Linked DNA regions of Homo sapiens: all the other regions are linked to region 3. The links are contacts of gene promoters, found by promoter capture Hi-C in blood cells and fetal thymus (Javierre and others, 2016). All regions are on one chromosome and are shown on one strand. The core of a region is centred on a gene start or on the middle of the fragment in contact, and the rest is flanking DNA. Distances in the headings are between cores, read along the strand shown.

Evidence for each region. The method cuts DNA at HindIII sites, captures the fragments that hold promoters and counts their contacts. A CHiCAGO score of 5 or more calls a contact.
Region 1: the fragment with the promoter of FXYD6 here is called in contact with a fragment that was not itself captured in region 3 in 3 of 17 cell types (naive CD4 T cells, activated CD4 T cells and naive CD8 T cells); the score reaches 5.8 in naive CD4 T cells.
Region 2: the fragment with the promoter of ATP5MG here is called in contact with a fragment that was not itself captured in region 3 in 1 of 17 cell types (neutrophils); the score reaches 5.3 in neutrophils.

The regions. Positions count from the first base shown.
Region 1 is chr11:117,875,013-117,879,195 of GRCh38, reverse strand. It overlaps FXYD6 (FXYD domain containing ion transport regulator 6), which reads left to right and starts at 2,538. Exons shown (of 8, transcript NM_022003.4): 1 at 2,538-2,604. FXYD6-FXYD2 (FXYD6-FXYD2 readthrough) reads left to right here and starts at 2,538. Exons shown (of 10, transcript NM_001243598.4): 1 at 2,538-2,604. The HindIII fragment of the contact is 14,206 bases long and covers 484-4,183 here.
Region 2 is chr11:118,399,263-118,403,237 of GRCh38, reverse strand. ATP5MG (ATP synthase membrane subunit g) reads right to left here and starts at 1,632. Exons shown (of 3, transcript NM_006476.5): 1 at 1,521-1,632. The coding sequence starts at 1,572. All of the region lies in intron 3 of LOC100131626 (a long non-coding RNA gene), which reads left to right. RefSeq lists enhancers at 1-449, 908-1,771, 1,892-1,971. The HindIII fragment of the contact is 3,431 bases long and covers 900-3,975 here.
Region 3 is chr11:118,136,978-118,140,618 of GRCh38, reverse strand. SCN4B (sodium voltage-gated channel beta subunit 4) reads left to right here. Exons shown (of 5, transcript NM_174934.4): 5 at 3,499-3,641. The coding sequence ends at 3,592. Among named protein-coding and RNA genes, the nearest start is that of SCN4B, 14 kb to the left of the region's middle. The HindIII fragment of the contact is 1,055 bases long and covers 1,864-2,918 here.

The sequences.
Region 1 (4,183 bases), core at 1,289-3,788, 260 kb after region 3:
AGTGCTTCCCAGGATAAAAGCTGGAATCACCAGGAATTGTTGGGCCAGTCCCACCCTGGCTCCTTTCACACCATGCCCCTTCTGCCTCAGGGCCTTTGCACATACTGCTTCTGTTCCAGAGGCAGAATCATCTTCCCACCCTGACATCCCAATTCTTGGCTCCTTTACCTCATCTTCTTAACATCTCCTGACCTTTCTCAAATGCTATATCTTCAGGGCTCTGAACTGTGTTTTAATTACACGTTTATTCATGGGAACATTTGCTAAATCTCTATCTCACCCAGGGACCACATCTTTCCTCTCCACAGTATATCCTCAGATCTTGGCCCAGGTCTCAGTGAAGAGTAGCTCCTCCTGTCCATACGTGGTTGAAAGAATGGAACAGCTGGCGACCTCTTTTTATGAATGCCCACATTTTTCACAGGGGGTAGATGTGTTTATTTTCCTGCTAGAAGGGAGATGTGACTCACCCCAGAACAAGCTTGCGTGCTGCTTTGTAGCTGTAACACCCCAAATTCTTCCAGCAGTACCCTTGGATGGAACGTGATGAAGCACTATTTGAGAGTTAAGCCATGGCGGTTTCTCATGCACATTTAGTTCCTGTTATCCCTCTGCAGCCTGGGCTGGTCAGCATTAGGTAGGGGGACCTGGGAAGTCACTGGGCCAAACACTTCAGAACTCTCTGGCTGGAAATGGGGTTGAACCAGAAGGTGGCTTGGCTTTGGAGTTCTGAACTATCCTTTCCCAAATAGGCTTGCAAAGCCTGGGCTTGACGTGTCATCACTAGTAGGTGCTCTAAAAAGCACAGAGAGATGGCCAAAAGGCAGGATTCAAGGGCATTTGGAGGGATGAATGTACCTGCCTAAGGACATGGGCCTAGAAAGGGATGTGGTTTTAAATCTGCCACCTAGAATACATGAAAAGGGAAAACGACAGTTGGAATGCTGTCCTCAGTTTATAGAGGAAAAGACAGGAACGGCAAAGGGTTAGGCACGCAAATAGGCAAGATTTGAGTCTGGCTTTGGAGAAGGAGCTTTAGCATTCACAGGAACCCCAGGGAGTTCAGGACTGGGCCAGAGTGGCATCCATTCAGCCAGGTCCCATGATTAAGGGGCCAGAACTATCCCCTGAGGGGAGGCTTTTTGGGTGCTCTTTCTCAGTAGCTATTTATGGTTCCCCTACTGGTTCCAAAGTCTTCTTGAGTTCATGTATATTTCCTGCCTTGGGGTTTTGAGACCTGACCTTTTATTAAAATAATTAGATCATCTAGGGCAGAGCTGGAAGAGACCTCAGGATCATCTAGTCCATCTCCCTATTTTCCCAAATGAGAAAACAGGCCCAGAACTGAGGGCAGCAGAGGCAGGGCTAGGTTTCTTCCTAGCAGTACCCATCATCCCCGGCTTGGGGTTTGTAAGGAACTCTCCGTGGCCCTACCTAGGCTTGGACAATCACAGCCTTTCTCAGTAGCTCCTCCCTCCACCCGGCTCGGCCATACACACACCTTGACTGAGGCTGGACAGCCTCCATCTCAGCATGGCTCCTGGCTACTGACACTTGTGCCTGGCCTCTGCCCCTTCCTACAAGCTCTGCCCCTAATAGTAAGAGCCAATTTCTTGAGCACTCACTATGAGCTAAGCCTCCCATGGGGTCAGTCTCTAATCACCATTTTCCCACGTGAGGAAATAGACTCAGGAGCTGAGTGCAGAGATATGCTCCAAGTCGCGTCACAGGCAGGGTTGCCGAGCCAGGATTTATTTACATCTTCACATTCAAAGTTCGTCATCATGAATTTTGACTCTTGGGGACTGGGCTGAGGACGGGGTGGTACTGCTCCTGGCAGGGCCAGAGGTGGATGGGGCTTGAAAAGGGGGTTCAAGGCAGCAGATCTATGGTTCAGGTAAGGACCATCCCCCCAGCTCCCCACCTGGCTCTAGCTGAAAATGACAACTACAACTGGAGCTGGCTCCTGCGCCCACGACACAGCCATTCATGCTTTTGGTGCACATTCCCCTTAATTACCAAGGCTCCCAATTAACGTGGGCTGCTGTGTCTGGTGCTGGGTTATTTTCTCCTATTTTTCCGTTCCTCGGGGTTTACTATTGCAGAGAGACACCAGGTCTGTCATTGTGCCTGTCTTGCTCCCTTCCCACCCTAACCAGAGGGAAACCGAAAAGCAACAGCTGATGGCAAATCCGCTCCGGCGCTTGCACGCCTCCTCGGCGGCAGTCTCCTGTTGCTTCTCGGAGCTTGACTGCCCTTTGGAAAAATCTCTCCGCCCCTCGAGAGGAGAGAGGAGCAGAGGACGCGCGCGAGCACAGAGCGGGAGGACGGACAGGGAGAGGAGGAGAGGGGGTCTGCGCGCGGCCGCTACCCAGAAGCCAGCGGACGGCAGCACGGAGTGGGCTGTCCCCGAGCCCAGCCCCGAGCGAGCCCCCCCCCCGCCCCCGCAGGACGCGCCTCCCAGCCAGCCCGACTCCTAGGAGGAGGGGAGGCGGGAAAGCAGCTCAAGCCTCACCCACCGCCCTGCCCCCAGCCCCGCCACTCCCAGGCTCCTCGGGACTCGGCGGGTCCTCCTGGGAGTCTCGGAGGGGACCGGCTGTGCAGGTAGGCGGCTGGGGAGGTGGGCAAAGTTGGCTCCTTTTTCCGAGGAGGGGCGAGGCTCGGTGGGGACCGATCTCTGGAGCGCCGGGAGCGCCGGGTTTTGTGTGTTCAGTGGGTGTGTGCGGTCCTCCGCGGTCAGCTGCGCCGCGGTCCCCGCCTGGGCAGCGGGAAACCGGGCTGGGGATGTAAACAAGGAGATCGGCGTCGGAAGAGAGAGGAGCCTCTAGGGGAGGCAGGCTGTGGCGCTGGGGGTGACGCTGGTGGCTGGGAATTGCTCTCGGTGCTGCCTTGAGCTTGGGGTCAGGGTTTTCAGGAGAAGGGGAAAGGGCTGCGCCCACCCTTTATCCATGAGGAGTTTTCCCTTTGTTACTTGGAAGCTGTGGACACTTGGTGGAGCGTGGGGAATTACGGACGAGGGCGTGTGGCTGGGTGTGAGTGTGGACTTATGAGCGACACAAAATGGAACTTGCTGGTTTGGTGCTTGGGGAAGGTGGGGCTGGGCAGTGGGCACAGGATGGGGGCGCAGGGAAAGAAGGATTCTAGCGCTCGGGGATTCATGAGAGTGCATCATTTTTTCCCTCCTTCTTGTCTTATCCATCCAATCCTGTTTCCTTTCCGGGGGGCCCTGGGGTCCGCCATTGCCCCCTTTCCCCAGCAGGGCTGGCCCTGGCAGAGCCTCCCCTATTGTGTCTCCCGGGCTTCCGTGGAGAGTTGGGTGTGCAGCCTGGAGCTCCCAGCGCTGGCTTCTGGCTCTTACAAGTGGTGGCTGGTAGAGGAGGCACCCGAGGGTGGGAGCTGGGAGCAGCCTCGCTGGAAACATGGGTCTGCCGCGTCACCTGCTGCAAGCCTGCACGCTCGCGGGACCGTGGCTACTGGAGGCTTCTCCCCACCAGTGTGCTCTCTGCCACTACTTCCTTTGTCTCTGTGGCTTCGTGCTGTCTGGCTGGGCTAAGATTTCCAGCTTTGAAGATGGATCAGTGGGCATCTCAGGCCCTCTCTGAAAGGAGCCCCCTTTGGGGATCCAGCCACCCTCATATTATGGATGTGTATGTCTACGTCCGCAACTTAGCCTTTTGCACGTGACTTGCCTGGTCGTTGCCATGGAAACTCCTCCATTTCTCAGCCTCCCTCTTTCTCCTGCCCATTCCTCACCTCCATATCTCCTCCCCTCCCCCCAGTATGGTTGCCTAGATACTGGTTATCCCTGGCTAGGAGACCTAGATATCTGGCTCCTACACCCAATTGCAGTGGCCCCTTACTCACACCACCCACTTCACACACACTGCACATCACCAACACCACAAACACATACAGACATATACCACACTACGCAATCAACACACCCTCACACTCACACCACACATACATATACATCATACCTATACACACATACACACCAAACACACCGCATATATACCGCACCACCACACACCAGCTACAATGCTACACTGACACCCTACATGCGCACTGTGCATGCACACACACACACACAGTACATCTAAATAAGTCTCAGGCTGGGCTGAGGCAGGGGAGAGAGAGGGCAGTTTCCTTCCTTATCCAGCCACCTCCCTAGGGGTGTGGA
Region 2 (3,975 bases), core at 383-2,882, 260 kb before region 3:
AGGCGTAAGCTACCGCCGCAGGGCCATCTCTTTTGATTTATATAAAATTGTAGAGCTCTATGACAGGTATCTTAACAATCTTAGTAAAGTAAAAGATTTTCTTGCAAGCTTATGAAATTATTTGGGAAAATGTGTAAAATGTTTCACTAGTAGGCTGTGAGGTTCTGCAGGACAGCCTTCAATAACTCATAGTTTGGCTGGTGATGGAGGGAAGGGAGGAGAGAATGGATAAATTACCCGGCTGGCGCTGTGGCTCACACCTGTAACTCTGGCACTTTAGGAGACCGAGGCGGGAGGATCCCTTGAGCCCAGGAGTTAAGAGACTAGCCTGGGCAACATGGTGAAATCCCGTCTCTTAAAACATACAAAAATTAGCTGGGTGTGGTGGTGCGTGCCTGTGATCCCAGCTACTCAGGAGGCTGAGGTGGGAGGATCGCTTGAGCCTAGGAGGTGGAGGCTGCAGTGAGCTGTGATCTGCACTGCACTCCAGCCTGGGCGACAGAGTGAGTCCCTGTCTTCTAGGAAAAAAAAAAAAAAAAAAGAAAGAAAGAAAAAGAAAATACCCAAACCAAACTCAAACACAGCAAAATAGGCTAGAAAGTATTACATTTTTTTTGAAGTTCTGCTTTCTATTCACATTTCATAAACGTAGGCAAAAGTTAAGAGATCCGACCTTCAGTCACTTACTGGAATACAGCACATCTAGGAAAAACTTACGTCAATTTAGCTTATCTCACTTCAGGAATAAAATGAATAGCTTGCCACTGAGAAGACAACTGAAATATTTACTGGCCAAATAAACTAGTACTCAGAGGCTGTGATTATTCAGGGTTGTTGTGAAATACAGCGGTCTACCAGTGAGGCTCTTCAAGCTGAAAAAATTCCACGAATGCTAAGCTTCGTAACAAAGATTATTGTTTATACGGATCCCGTCCTATGCTTCTCGGGGCATGGATACTCATCCATGAAGTCCATTTCCACCTAAAATTTCCCTCGGATTAAAGCGGAAGTATCTTAGAATCCGTCTAGGACAGAAAGCAAAGTCAACGTTCAAAAAAGCTCACCCATCCTTAAACATTTCTGTTGACTTCCAAATACTCCACTGAGAACAACACCACATGTAATGAGGCCGAATTGATTTACTTTCACGTTTCTGCCCTTCCTTTTCTTAGCTCTCCTAACAGAACCATCCCCTCTAGATCCCTGCTCTTAGCGATCTCAGGGGGCGTAATGGTTGCAGCTGCCGGGCAACGCCGGGCTTCCTTCACACTACCTCTCTTCCCAGTCGTGGTTAGAATTCAGGAACTTCTAGGTTGTGTAGAGAACCCAATCTGCAGGTCAGACGAGTGGAAGGCTAGAAAAGAGTCGCCAACCTGCTTCCTGCTCCCTCCACCTGCAGGCCATCCCGCCCCGGCACCCGCAGGCCCCTCGGGTCTTCGCAGCCCGCTTCTTCCTCTCAGGCCATCGCAGGCCTCCCTGCCGCCCGTGTGCCCGCCTCGGCGGTCTCACATCGCGCTCACCGTTCACCAGCGCCGGGGTCTTCTCCACAAGGTTACGGACAAATTGGGCCATGGTTCTGGAATGGAGAGTCCGTCGCCCCGAACCGCCGGCTGAATGTCACCCGCCGGAAGGACCCGCTGCAGGACCCCGTCCCACTTCCAAGGTCAGGCCGCCTCTTTTCGCGCCGGTCGAAGATACTTAAATGTCCAAAGATCTTTGCAGAATCCAGCCTGTCAATTTAATTTTTCAACATGGAAGAGAAAGTGGATATGAAAAGATGGTATTAGAGAGCATGTGAAGAACAGTAGGATTCCGCAGAGAAGCAGGCATTTTGTGGGGCAGCCACTCGTAGAGGTCCGGAAAACCGGCAAGGAGCGGAAATGCGCATGCGCCCTGAACCTGCAGTGCTTTTCTTGGCGCCGACCTCCGCTATTTTGCGTAGGGTGCTTTCGCCGCGATTCTGAGAACCTTTGAAGTCAGTACTGGAGAAGGATTCGCTGAGATTCTTCTAGTCCAACACGATCGTTGTACAGAGGTAGAGAGGGTCCAAGGCCAAACATATAAAGTTAGGGGCCGAGCAATCACCACACAGGCTGTCACCAGGCTCAACCCATAGCCCTTTTTATTTGAGACAGTCTCGCTCTGTCGCCCAGGCTGAAGTGCAGTGGCACGACTTCGGCTCACTGCAACCTCTGTCCCCCGGGTTCCAGCGATTGTTGTGCCTCAGTCTCCCTAGTAGATGGGACTACAGGCGCCCGCCACCACGCCTGGCTAATTTTTGTACTTTTAGTAGAGACGGTGTTTCACCATGTTGGCCAGGCTGGTCTCGAACTCCTAGCTTCAAGTGATCCACCCGCCTTGGTGCTGGGATTACAGGCGTGAATCACCGCGCCTGGCCCCATAGCCCTTTTAAAGTTGATTTTTTGTAATCCCAATCTCCCCAAAGTGCTGTATCACGATTGGAATCCATTTCCCCTAATTCCCTAGTTAACCACAAGGAGCTGTGCAGATGTGAGGAAAAAATCACCTGTATTGAACGCCCACACTATGCCAGGCATTTTGGAATTTAAAGAAAGCCTGTAAGGCATTGTCCCCATTGAGACTGGGCTTGAAAAATGGCCACACAGTTTGGAAGTGGCAGAGTTGAGATCTGAAGTTGCAATGTATACTCAGAGAGGGGGCATTCCATCAGATTAGGCATGGTGCTGATTTCAGCATACTTCCTAGAAAAGATCCTTGAGCCGATGTGTAAGAGAACAGCTGTATACTACAGAGGGCTGAAACTTCATAGTTTAATATGAGGAGGAAAAGATGTATGTAGGGAAGTGGCATTTGATGAGAGGAACAGAACTATAAGTAATGTAACCTGGGGAAGTCTGAGCAGAAGTAAATCTCCGATTTTTGGAATGGTTAGAGAGATGGAAAGAAAAATTAGAAGTGTAATCAAGGAACTAAGAACTTTTCAATGAAGGAGTGATTCTGCTGCCCTAGATACTGCAGAAAAGTCAAATTAAGGATGGGAAAGTTAATTTAGCAATATGGCAATCTTTAACTAACTAGCGCCTTTTCAAAAAATTAGGATAGAATCCAGGGTGAATGGTGAAGAAATATGGCTGTAAAGGATTACAAGTCAGAAAACCAAAGGGGGATGTGGAACTCAGGGGAGAAATTGAAGACAGAGAAGAGGCAGTCATTTATTTATTTAGAGATGGGGTCTTGCCACATTGCCCAGGCTGGCCTGAAACTCCTGGCCTCAAGAGATCATCCCACTTCAGCCTCTTGCTTAGCTCTGGGATTACAGGCACAGGCCATCCTGCCTGATAAAAAGGGATATTGACAAGAGCCCTGATGAGGCAGGAAAAGAGAACTAGCCAGGGATCTATGGGGCCTTTTCCACAGATGTGATTATGGGAGAGAGGTCTGAAAGTCTTCAAAGTCTCTGAAGTCTTTATCTTCCCAGCAAAATGAAGGCAAAGTCATCGGACTGTGAGGGGTCAATGGGAGGGGGGTATGAGAAGGAATTTGAGGAAGGAGGCCAAAGTTTGGAATAGCTGAAGGACACACAGAAGGGTTGTTGGGCAACGTTAGAGATAAGTTTGTGGTTGTACCATTCTAAAAATTGTGTTTTTCCTCCAACAATGGTCTGCAGTTTGGATATTACAGCAGAGGGGAATGGCTGAGTTAATCTAGGCTGACATCTTGCATGGCAGGGGTATGGAAACAAGGAGCAAGAAAGGGGAAGATAACAGCAAATGATTACAAAGACCTGGGGTTCAGGCCAGATAAAGAAAAACAGTGAAGCCAAAAGAGAGCTGGTTAGGAAAACCATACTGTGAGATTCATCTCCTGAGGGTAACCCCAGGGTCCCCTCCAGAGGCCTGGTAAGGCAGGCTGGGTCAGCCAGGTCACACATATTTGATGTTACTTACCTAAAAAAAAAGTGAAACGTCAGAATCCTCTAAGTTTTCAGGGGGA
Region 3 (3,641 bases), core at 1,142-3,641:
CTCAGGCCCCAAATTTTTGGAACAGTATCAGACAGGCTCCAGAGCAGCATGTGGTGAATCTTGCAAAACTAGAGCAGGGAAAAGGCATTTGAAAGTTGTGTTCTGAGCAAGACAGATGCGACGAGATGGCTTCCCATTGGAACAGAGAGGGTGATGGTAACCACGAGATGCAGAGAATGGAGAACTCCTCTGCCCCTATTTGCTGAAACATTCTGCTCTGCTGAGAAGAGGGAATTCTGCTGTAAAGGGCAGAACTTACTCTAGAAAGAGGGGATGGAAGTTGGAGGTAGGGAGGGGCCATACAGGTAGCAGCGCTGGGGCTGGGGAGCAGGGGAGGACCCCAGAACTGGGTTGTCGATGAAGAGCTCAAGGGTTGTCTGCCTGCCTTGTGGCCAGAGGCTGTGAGGGTTTTGGTGATCGTGAGAGGGGCTAAAAGCGTGGAGCTTAATTAGGTTCTGTTTTTCATAACCAGTCTTACTATCAATGGATGGAGAACAAATTTGTCAATATATGGTTTAAAAGCACTTAGAAAAGACAACGGTGGTCCTTCAGAGCCACAGTGGGTTCATCAAAAACAAGACATGCTAAGCTGGATGTGTGTGCCTGAAGTCCCAGCTCCCTGGGGGGCTGAGGCAGGAGGATGCTTTGAGCCCAGGAGTTTGAGTCCAGCCTGGGCAACTTAGCAAGAGCTCGTCTCTTAAAAAAAAAAAGAAAAAAGAAAAAAAAAAAAGGAATGCTAGATGTCTCCTGATAAGGCACTGGCAGAACAGGAGATTGCTCTGGAAAATACCACTTCCTGTCATTCATCAAATGCCTACCATATGTTAGGAATTCCACCAGGCAATTTTATACACTACCCATAATTATTATTTTACAATTGAGCAAAGTGAGGCTCAGAGTAGTGAAGTGACTTGCCCAAGGCCACACAGCTAGTAAGTGATAGAGCTGGGATTTGAACTGTGACTAATTTGGCTTCAAAGCTTAAACCATTGCCAGGATGTTCTACTGACTCACTGGGCATATCTAGAGTTCATTCATTTATCTGTTCATTTTGTGGCTGTTTTTGAGGCACTGTGCCAGATGCTATAGGAAATTATGGAAGGAATGAGATTCTGCCTTTAACTAAAGAAGACAAGATACAAATAAATGTGTATACAAATAAATGTAATACAAGGTAGAGGGGATCAGTGCCAGCAAAGAGGTTTGATACGATGCTGCTGTGGGGGTTCAGGGCAGGGTGAAATTCTGGGAAGGATTTCTGGCTGAATGGGTGTTTGTGGCAGGCCTTGCAAGATTAATATAACTTAAGCCCTGGGGAGAGTAAAGGGAAGATTCTTCCAGATGGAGGCACCACTGAGAGCCAAGGCAGAGAGTCTGGGAAGTGGGCTTGTCTGGAGAACAAGCCTTTTGTTTGTTGAGAGAGCTGTATGGTGAGGTGGTGGGGAGGAGAATAAAAGCCTGCAGAAGGGGTTGGGGACAGACACTTGGGGACCTGGGAGTCGAGGCTGTGATTGACTTCCGACGGCAGGGGAGCTGGCGAGGGCTTGCAGGGCCCTGGCACGATCAGAGAGCACAGAAGAAAGGATCTGGCCATGGTGGGCGGAGGGATTGGGTGGAAGAGCCTGGGGGCAGGGGACAGACCGTAGGGAAGCCTGAGGGAGGTCCTTGGAGTGGCGGGGAATGCCTGCATTACAGCAGAGACAGTGGCTTCTCAAGAACAGGGAGGTACTGGACAACATCTCACCATTGATTCTGAAACGTGGGTGCTGTTTCCTCTGTCTGGAATTTACCCTCTCTCTTTTCCTGCTCATCTTTCTTGGTTTCAAAGAAGCTTGGAAGTTTAAGGTATACTTCCAAAAAGCTTCCCTGACTCCTATGAGGAGGCTTCCTAGGTTGGGTCCCTCCTTCCTACATCCCCCATCCTGTTATTTACCACAGTGTGTCACAATCACTTGTTTAATGTCACATGCCCTAGGAGAGTGCACGTTTCCGACACAGTGCCTGGTACCCAGTAGGTTCTCAGTAGAGAATTATGGACTGCGTGGAATACAGTTCGGTGGGTCGTAATTGGCTGGGTTAACTATGCCTTAGGTACAGAGACAGAAAGAAAGAAAGAGAGAGAGACAGAGAGAGAGAGATGGATCCATCCGAATAGAGGTCTTTAGTGTATTCCACAGGGCTCCACCTGTTCATTGTTATTACTAACATTTGAAGTACACTAGGGATGTCACATTTATCAACTTCCAGAAGCCTAGTAACTATGTTGGAAGAAAAAGGGATCTAGGAAGATCTTGATAGGCTGGAGCTAGGAACTAGGTATTGCAAGATGAAATTAATGAGGACAAAATATTCAGTCCTTCCCAAAGGCCTCAAACCCAGCTGCCCAAGCCCAGGGTGAGGGTAGGATGTAGTTTGGCTGTAGCAGCTGTGAAAAACTTGGCCATTTTCATGAGCAGAAAGCTCAGAGGGATGCAGGTGCTCCCTGGGGAGTTCTGTGTGCCCAGCCTGGGCGCTGCTGTGGAGGAGGGACACACTGAAGTTGGAGCATGTCCAGCTCAGAGCGGTCAGGGTGGAACGCCTCCCGGGAGGTGTCTTCCCATCTCACCATCTCTCCTTCCTCCTGTCTTCTGCTCCGTCCCACCAAACTCTGCCTAGACCTGTCACCCTTGAAGCCAAACCCACTGCCTGCTCTGCCCCTTCCATGGACTCTGTTCTTCCCTTAATACCTCTAGTCACGGAGAGCTCAGGGAGGAAGGCCTGGGGGGCCCTGGGGAGAGGGACTCTGTGTCCTCAGCATACTCCTTGCTGGCCTGGACCCCTCCCCCTGGCGTGGCACAGCCTGGGAACTGACCCCTGAGAACAGCACCTGGTGCCCTTTGCTTCCTGCCATGTTGAGACAACTAGGTGACAGCTAAGCTTTATTGAGAACTTTCTTTTTTTCTTTGTTTGAGACAGAGTCTCGCTCTGTTGCCCAGGCTGGAGTGCAGTGGCACGATCTCAGCTCACTGCAACCTCCGCCTCCCAGGTTCAAGCGATTCTCCTGCCTCAGCCTCCCTAGTAGCTGGGACTATAGGCGCCTGCCACCACGCCTGGCTAATTTTTGTATTTTTAGTAGAGATGGGGTTTTGCCATGTTGGCCAGGCTGGTCTCGAACTCCTGACCTCAAGTGATCTGCCTGCCTCGGCCTCCCAAAGTGCTGGGATTACAGGTGTGAGCCACCGCACCTGGCCAGTTGAGAACTTTCTACATGGCAGGCACTGTTCTAAGTGCTCATTTCTCCTTCCAGCAACCCCACGCAGAAGGTCATCCCTACCTCTATTTCACAAATGAGGGGACTGAGGTACAGAGAGGTTAGGTGACATGGCCTCTGGCTACCTTAGCTCTGTAGAAGGCCAGGGAGAGGCACAGGGCTGGGTGCAGGGCCCACGGCTCCTGCCACAATTCTCCCCCTACTCTTGCTCCTCTCCTCACCACTGTCCCTTCTCTCTCCCTCTCCAGGAAGGAGTGTCTCGTGAGCTCCTCGGGGAATGACAACACGGAGAACGGCTTGCCTGGCTCCAAGGCAGAGGAGAAACCACCTTCAAAAGTGTGAGCCCTGCTTCGGGCTGAGCAGCTGCAGGGAGCCCCCTTTCTGATGATGA